3 separate regions of the Homo sapiens genome follow, and regions 1 and 2 are each linked to region 3. The links are contacts of gene promoters, found by promoter capture Hi-C in human tissues and cell types (Jung and others, 2019). All regions are on one chromosome and are shown on one strand. Each heading gives the region's core, a stretch centred on a gene start or on the middle of the fragment in contact. The rest is flanking DNA. Distances are from core to core; before and after follow the strand shown.

Region 1 (2,700 bases), core at 34-2,533, 300 kb after region 3:
CCATAAAGAAAGAAAAAAGACAACCCAGAGAATGGGATAAAATATTTGCAAATCACATATCCGACATGGGACTTGTATCTGGAATACATAAAGAACTCTTACAACTCAATAATAAAAAGACAAAAAGTCCAATTTAAAAATGAGCAAAGGCCAGCCTGGGCAACACAGTGAGGCCCCATCTCTACCAAAAAAAAAAAAAAAAAAAAAAAAAACCAGCCAGGTATGAGATCAGACACCAAGACTGGGGCAGGAGGATGGCTTGAGCCCAGGAGTGTGAGGCTGCAGTGAGCTGTGATTGTTTCACTACACTCCAGCCTGGGAAACAGAGCAAGACCCCAGTCTCTAAAAAATTTTTTTAATTAAAAAAATAAAAAATGGGCAAAAGATCTGAATAGATATTTCTCATGTGAGGAAGATACACAAATGGCCAGTGAGCACATGAAAAGATGTTCAACATCATTAGCCACTAGGGAAATGCAAACCCAAACTGCAATGAGATAATACTTCATATTCACAAGAATGGCTAGAATCTGAAGTTAGGTTACAACAAGTGTTGATGAGGATGTGGAGTAATCAGAGCCCTCATACACTGCTGGTGGGAATGTAAAATGGTGCAGCTGCTGTGGAAAACAATCTGGCAGTTCATCAGTTAAAAAGAGTTATCATATGCTCTAGCAATCCCACTCCTAGGTATATGCCCAAGAGAAATGAAAACATATGTCCATACAGAAACTTGTACACAGATGTGTACAGCACCATTCATAATAGCCAAAAGACAGAAACAACCTAAATGTCATCATTTAGGTGGATGAAAGGATAAAACACTATTATTATTTGGCCATAAAAAGGAATGAAGTGCTAACACAGGCTATGACATGGATAAGCCTTGAAAACATTATGCTAACTGAAAGAAGCCAATCACAAAGACAACATATGATCCCACTCATAGGCCAGTCCAGAATAGGGAAGTTATAGAGACAGAGATTAGTGTTTGCTTAGGATGAGGTGAGGTGTTGGGTGGGATAGAGTGGTCATAGATAAAGGGGTTTCTTTCTGAGGTGATGAAAATTTTCAAAAACTGACTGTGGTGTTGGGTGCATATATCTGTGAATATACCAAAACCAATGTATTAACTGTATAGCATTTGAATTATATTTCACTAAAGCTGTTCGCTCTGTCACCAGGCTGGAGCGCTGTGGTGCGATCTCGGCTCACTGCAACCTCTGCCTCCTGTGTTCAAGTGATTTTCCTGCCTCAGCCTCCCGAGTAGCTGGGACTACAGGCACACGCCACCAGACCCAGCTAATTTTTGTATTTTTAGTAGAGACGGGGTTTCATCATGTTGGCCAGGATGGTCTTGATCTCTTGACCTCGTGATCTGCCTGCCTCAGCCTCCCAAAGTGCTGGGATTACAGGTGTGAGCCACCACGCCCGGTCTGAAAAAAATCTTTAAAAGATCATCCTGTGAGAAGCACCTGAACATACACTCCTCTGATTTGGGTTCTAACCATGGACACTTTTGCTACAGTCAGTGTAAGGACCAGCCTGGATCAGGCCTAATCACAGGCTGGATTCCCTGCACCAGTACTTTTCATATGTTAGTACTTAACAGAATCACCCAAGAGCCTGTTAAAAAACACACAGTCCTGACTATCTCAAGAGAGACTGAGTAGGACAGAGATGAAACCCACAAATCTACTATGCTTAAGTTCCCACATGAATCTAGTGCAAGTGGTTAGCAACCACATTTGCTACAAATAGTTCTCTGCACTGTTATCTAGACAAAACCCATCAGATTTAGCCTTCACTTCTAAATAAATTTTTTTTTCAAAGCAATGAAAGAAAGAAGCAACAAAAGCACAGATTTATTGAAACGAAAGTACACTCCATAGAGTGAAAGCAGGCTCAAGCAAGCAGCTCAAGAGCCCTAAATAAATTCTAAATTCTAAAATGTTGAATATTATGTCATAGTAATAGAAAAAAAAAAACAAAATAGCCTTCAAACTTCTGACAGGTGAAGAGCAGACCAAAGGTAATTGCAGAATTTCCAGACTTCTCATTTGACCAAAAGGGCTATTCAATTATAGACAAAAGAAACATAATTAGCTAAAAAAGTACAGAGCAGAACCGCATCATTATATAGTGACCCACTATAAATCAAAAGGTCTCAGTACAGACCACACCACTAAGAATATTTAATCTTGCACAATTTTATGGTTATAAGTCAGAACCTTATGTTCTGACTAGCCCATTAGCTTTCCAGATTCTAGTTAAAACCCATCTTCAAACTGAAGAGATTTTGTATAAACAATATATAGCTGAAGATATCTACCACTAAGAAAGAAGCTTTATAAAATTAGGAAAATGGCTTTTAGAATTTACAAAAGAAATTCTAAAATGCACAAATGAAGTAATAGCCGACTTTCTTTTTTTTTTCTTTCTTTTCTTTCTTTCTTTTTTTATTAAAAAGAGACAAGGTCTTGTTCTGTTGCCCAGGTTGGCCTTGACCTCCTTGGGCTCAAGCAATCCTCCTGCCTTATAGTCTCCCAAGTAGCTGGGGACTACAGACATGTGCCACAGCATTTGGCTAATAGCAAACATTTTAAATAGTAAATACATATAAATTAAAAACATCTGAAAGTTTCCAAAGCAGCCCCCACCCCCACCTCACCTATAAAAGGAATTCTAAGTGCAGAAAAG
Region 2 (2,700 bases), core at 79-2,578, 320 kb after region 3:
GATTCCAAAACCTCTGCACTTAATTACTATGCTATATTGCAATGTTATATATCAATTTTCCAGATAAGAAATGGGAGGCTCAGAAAGATCAAGCAAACTTACCCCCAAAAAACACTGCTAACAAGTCTCTATACCAGGACTTAAACTCAAGCTTTCTAATTTCAACTTCCTTGGCCATATAATAAAATGACTGATAGAAGCTAAGAATCAGTAGTAGAGTAATGAAATGGAAGGAAAATATATTGTTTATAGTGTCTACACATTGGTGACTCACTAGTTAAATCTGGGCCTCAGATATGTTCTGTTTAGCCTTCAAGATATAGTTCTTTAAATCTGTATTAGTTGTTATACAAAGTGTGACAATAGCTATTCCAAACATTCTTATCCCTTGCTGTCACTCAATGATTAAAATGGAAAGCCATATACTTACTTTCCCAGGCTCTATTGCAACTAGAGTAGGCCATGTAACCTAGTTCTGGTAGGAGACTTAAAGAGAAAGCTACTGGGAATGAGCAGTTGGTTTCTGGGAAAATTTTTGCTTCCTAATGAATGGTACAGCCACTGCTGGCACTGTACCTTTTACCCCTTTCTGCAACAAATATGGATGTACTGCCAGAGCTACAATAGCCATCTTTTATGTGGAAAAAAGCAGAAAGATGGGAATCAAATACACTATTAATGGCAAAACAGGAAGATATAAACAACTTAGATCTTTATGGTATTGCTGAGCTAAGTTAGTCCTAGACTATATGTATCTTCAAATTTATTGTTAGATAAACCATATTCCTACTGTTTAAATTTGGTCTTCTGTTACTTACAATCAAAATAATTTCCAGCCAATTCAGTTGCCAACATTTAAAAATCAGAGGATTTCAGACAGGCAGAGTGGCTCACACCTGTAATTTCAGCACTTCGAGAGCCTGAGGTGGGAGAATGGCTTGAAGCCAGGAGTTTGAGACCACCCTGGACAATATAGTGAGACCTCATCTCTACAAAAACTAAGAAAAAATAGCTGGGTATGATGGTATGCAACTATAGTCCTAACTACTACTCAGGAGGCTAAGGTGGGCAGATTGCTTGAGCCCAGGAGTTGAAGGCTGTAGTGAGCTACGATCTTGCCACTACACCCCAGCCTGGGAGACAGAGTGAGATCCTGTCTCTAAAGTCCACCCCTCCCACCAAAAAATATCAAAAGATTTCATATAATCTGCTAATTACTAATGTTTCTCGAGATATAAGACTTTTCTGGCAATACTGGGTCTACACAGAGTCACACTGGCAGCCTCTGAAGACAGAGCTCATAGTCTCCTACTTACCACAGATCCTATTTGGCCAGCTTCACTAATGTATGTCATCTGCCAAATCTTATAGCCACACTTAAATGTACAACTTCCTATATCTCAATCTAAGTCTGGTCTAGAACCCAAGTGGCCACCTGAACACCTAGCATTAAAAAAAAATCTCCAGCCAGGCACAGTGGCTCAGGCCTGTAATCCCAGCACTTTGGGAGGCTGAGGCAGACGGATCACCTAAGGTCGGGAGTTTGAGACCAGCCTGGCCAACATGATGAAAATCCATCTCTACTAAAAATACAAAAATTAGCCGGGTGTGGTGGCACACATCTGTAATCCCAGCCACTTGGGAGGCTGAGGCACGACAATCGCTTGAACCTGGGAGGTGGAGGTTGCAGTGAGCCAAGATCACGGCACTGCACTCCAGCCTGGGCGACAGAGCGAGACGCCATCTCAAAAAAAAAAAAAAAAAAAAAAAAAAAAAAATATATATATATATATATATATATATATATATATATCCAATTTCTACTAAAGATGTAGTAAAGGGCTTTTACACTAGCAAAAGCTCTCCTGAAACTGCCCAAGAGGTAAGCTGTTCTGACCTTTATTCTTGGAGCCAAACTCTGGCAATTATTTAACAGTAAAATGGGCAATTAAAGTAGTCAATTTTCCAGTTATGAAATTCTGTGAACCCCTAGGAAGCAATATTTATGAATAAATCCCAAGATTCCAATAATAAAGAGTCCAAGAAGCTTCCTATATTTCTTTCTTTTTTCTTTTTTTTTTGAGACGGAGTTTCATTCCTATTGCCCAGGCTGGAGTACAATGGCGCAATCTCGGCTCACCGCAACCTCTGCCTCCTGGGTTCAAGTGATTCTCCTGCCTCAGCCTCCTGAGTAGCTGGGATTACAGGCAAGCACCACCACGCCGGCCTAATTTTGTATTTTTAGTAGAGACGGGATTTCTCCACGTTGGTCAGGCTGGTCTTGAACTCCCGACCTCAGGTGATCCGCCCGCCTCAGCCTCCCAAAGTGCTGGAATTACAGGCATGAGCCACCGCTCCCGGCCAGCTTCCTATATTTCTTACATAGAAGTGGCAAGGCAATATAAAACCACAGCATCTAAAATCCCCCAAGCAAGAAAATAAGGTTGTCATTTGGTAGTCTCAGTAGCAAAGTAAGCTTGTACCACCACTGCACAGTCCTAGTGAAGGGTTTAGGATTCCTGTATCCAAAGCTATCTTACAAGTGTATATCTTATATCTTATATACAAAGCAGACCTTACAAGTCACAGTTGAGGTGATGTTCTGAGACATTTCAAGGAGACTGTCATTTAGGATAAACTGCTTGACTTTCACTACAAGCAGTTTCAAGAAATGACACACCTATCTCGACTGCCAAAAGA
Region 3 (2,700 bases), core at 69-2,568:
GCTGCAGAGCCCCGTCACTGGCTGTCCTCCCTCATCAGAAGGGAGCAGCCTCTTGGATCATTACCCCTGACTTCCTCAGCAGGCCTGGGGGGTTTCACTCCAGCCCAGTCCTAACTCTGTTAGGAAAAGGAAGGGAACCACCATGTAAATACAGCCAGGAGACAGGCCAGGAAGCCAGCAGGATACGGGGAATCTCGGCACGGCCTCCCACCCATTTCTGGCCAGACTGGGCTAGGGGACAGGGAGGGGCCCGCACCCAGGATAGCTTGATGCCAAGCTCACTTTCCCAAGCAGGCCTTACCGGTGAACAGGAACAGCAGGGTCCAGCCGAGCTGTTCCCAGTCACCACCAGCAGGCCTGGGGATGCCTCCCGAGAAGACACCCGGGTCTAGACTGGCCCTGAACGCCAGGCCCGGCAAGGAGCGCTAGCCTTAGGAACCCGAGGCAGGGAGTCCTGGGAGTAGCCACCGCTCATCTGCTCCTGAGGAGACGGTATTCAGGCCCCACTGGCGCATCTGCCCGGCCCTCTGCTCCTTGCCCTCCACCACCCCGGCAGGCGTACCGACCACGCGAGCAGCAGGTGCAAGACGCGGGGGTGGCACTGAGATGACATAAAACCACACTCGCCCCCACCTCCCAAGCCCTGACGGCCTCCGCCACGGCCCTCCTGCCACCCCAGGCTGGCGCTTCCGTCGGATACAGAGATGGAGGTGGAGGAGCAGCCAGCTGCCCGCCTCCCTCAGACCGAGGAGCGGGAGGCGGCGCCGGGAACGTCCTTCCTCGCTAGTCCACGGCCTCCAGGGAGCATGGGCACCCCAGGCCGGCCCTCCCGCCAAGGGCGCAGCTCCGCAGTGGCCGAGGCGGGGGCCCAGCCTGGAGGCCGCAGCCCCCCGCCCCGCCCAGCCCTCCGGCCCCGCACAGCGCTCTTGCCAGGCCCCGGCGCCCGCCCGGCGGCGGCCTGGCTGTGCGGTCCCGCCCCCGGCCCCGCCGCGCTTACCCGGGGCGCTGCAGTCCGCACACACCTCCGCTCGCGGCCCCTTTCGGGACATCCTCAGCGGCGACGCGGCCGCAGCCCTCTGGGCCAGCGTGGGGGGCGCGGGCGGCGGGCCCGGGCGGCGGCGGCGGCCCCTGCTGCCCGGCCCGGCTCCGGCGAGGCCCCGGCGAGGCTCCGCGCGCCCGGCCAACCGTCCGCCCCGGGGCTGGCCCGGAACCCGCCGTGCCCGCCTGCCCGCTCGCCCTCGGGCGCCCTCCGCCCCGCGCCGCCCCGCCGCCGCTCGCGGCTCCTCTCTCCGCCCCCTGCGCGGCTCCCGGCCGCTTCTGCAGGAAGCGGCGCAGGCCCTGCCCACAGGGGGAGGGGCCGCACCCCCGCCCCGCCGCGCGCTGCCGGCCGCGCCCCCTAGAGAAAGGAAGCCCGGGCGCGGGCAGGAGGGGGCGGGGGCGCTTAAAGGGGCCGCGGCAGATGCCCGGCCCCGGCGGGCAGCGTGGCCTGCGGCCCTGGCCTCCGCTGCAGCGCTCGCCTGGCCCGGAGGCAATGTGAGTCACCCTCACAGCCCCCTCCCCTTCACTTTCCGCGTGGGGTGGACCGGGGGACGCTGGGCCCACGGACGGCGAGGGTGGGGATTAGGGAAGAAGGACTTGGAGGCCCAAGTCCCGCTCCAGGTCAAAGGGGCTGTGCCTTGGGGTACCCGTCTATCTCTGGTTGGGGTGAGGTGTGCGTCCCTGTCCCGTAGGTGTCCACATCTGTGTGTCCAGGGGTGTGTGTGTATGTGTCACACTCTTGCTGAATACGCCCACTGCTAACAATATGGACGCCCAGGTGCCAGAAAGGTCAGGCAGTGTATTCCCCTGCCTCCGGACTAAAAATATATCTATCTCTCCATGCATCCTTCCATCCAGAGAGGAGAGAATCTGGGCGGTTTTTAAAGACCTCCCGAGGAGTGACCACTGTGCCTGTGTGCACTCACATCCACTTGTCATCCGCCTTACACACACCCACGGTGTTTCTGGGCCACCAGAGGTGTGTGTGTCCAGAAAGGGTGCATATAACATAGAGGGGCCGTTTCAGGTGACGGCCTTTCTTCCTGGACTTCACACGACGAGGCAGGCAAAGGCAAGGCAGGTGAGGGACGTGGGTGGGCTGGGGGGCAGGGAGCCTAGGTAGAGGCCGCACATGAGCGCAGCCCCCGCACTGAGCATGCGCCCCCATACGCGTGTGCCGCGCGTGTACCCAACCCCCAATCCCTGCAGCAGCAAAAGGCCCGGGCACTCTGCTTGTGGGGAGAGGGTAGAGGTCCCCAGGGCCAGACCTGGGGGCCAGGTCAGTGGTGACAATTGAGGAGGGGTTCTCCAAGAGTCAGAGACTCCTGCTTGTTAAGATGGGGGCAGTCCTTTGGCAGGGGTGCTCAAGTTGGTCGATTATCCCAACGGTGCCAGAGCGGCAGTGATTTGTGGGTGGGCAGGCTCCTTCCCTAGGGGAGACAAGTAATGCTCATGAGTCACACCACCCGAAATACATGCAAAGCTGCCTCCATCGCCTTTTGCTGCGGCCCAGATTGACAAGTTTGTTTGAAATCGCGATCCATGGGCTTTATTTATAATTGCACCTTAAAAAAATCTTGCAGGCCTCCCCTCCCTCGACAGCCAGCCGCTCAGCTGGTGGGGCTTTTGCAAGCAACGATACCTAGCTGGTGTGTAGGGGGG

Evidence for each region. Contacts are between HindIII fragments. The study calls those that stand out against the background at their distance.
Region 1: a fragment that was not itself captured here is called in contact with the fragment with the promoter of GIT1 in region 3 in 1 of the 25 tissues and cell types used here (lymphoblastoid cells).
Region 2: a fragment that was not itself captured here is called in contact with the fragment with the promoter of GIT1 in region 3 in 2 of the 25 tissues and cell types used here (dorsolateral prefrontal cortex and lymphoblastoid cells).

The regions. Positions count from the first base shown.
Region 1 is chr17:29,889,617-29,892,316 of GRCh38, forward strand. All of the region lies in intron 1 of SSH2 (slingshot protein phosphatase 2), which reads right to left. Among named protein-coding and RNA genes, the nearest start is that of SSH2, 39 kb to the right of the region's middle. The HindIII fragment of the contact is 4,297 bases long and covers 1-2,700 here.
Region 2 is chr17:29,911,571-29,914,270 of GRCh38, forward strand. The region is part of intron 1 of SSH2 (slingshot protein phosphatase 2); the gene reads right to left. Among named protein-coding and RNA genes, the nearest start is that of SSH2, 17 kb to the right of the region's middle. The HindIII fragment of the contact is 3,452 bases long and covers 1-2,700 here.
Region 3 is chr17:29,588,330-29,591,029 of GRCh38, forward strand. GIT1 (GIT ArfGAP 1) reads right to left here and starts at 1,319. Exons shown (of 20, transcript NM_014030.4): 1 at 998-1,319. The coding sequence starts at 1,049. RefSeq lists enhancers at 1-500, 1,400-2,299 and silencers at 718-907, 1,168-1,647. The HindIII fragment of the contact is 8,209 bases long and covers 1-2,700 here.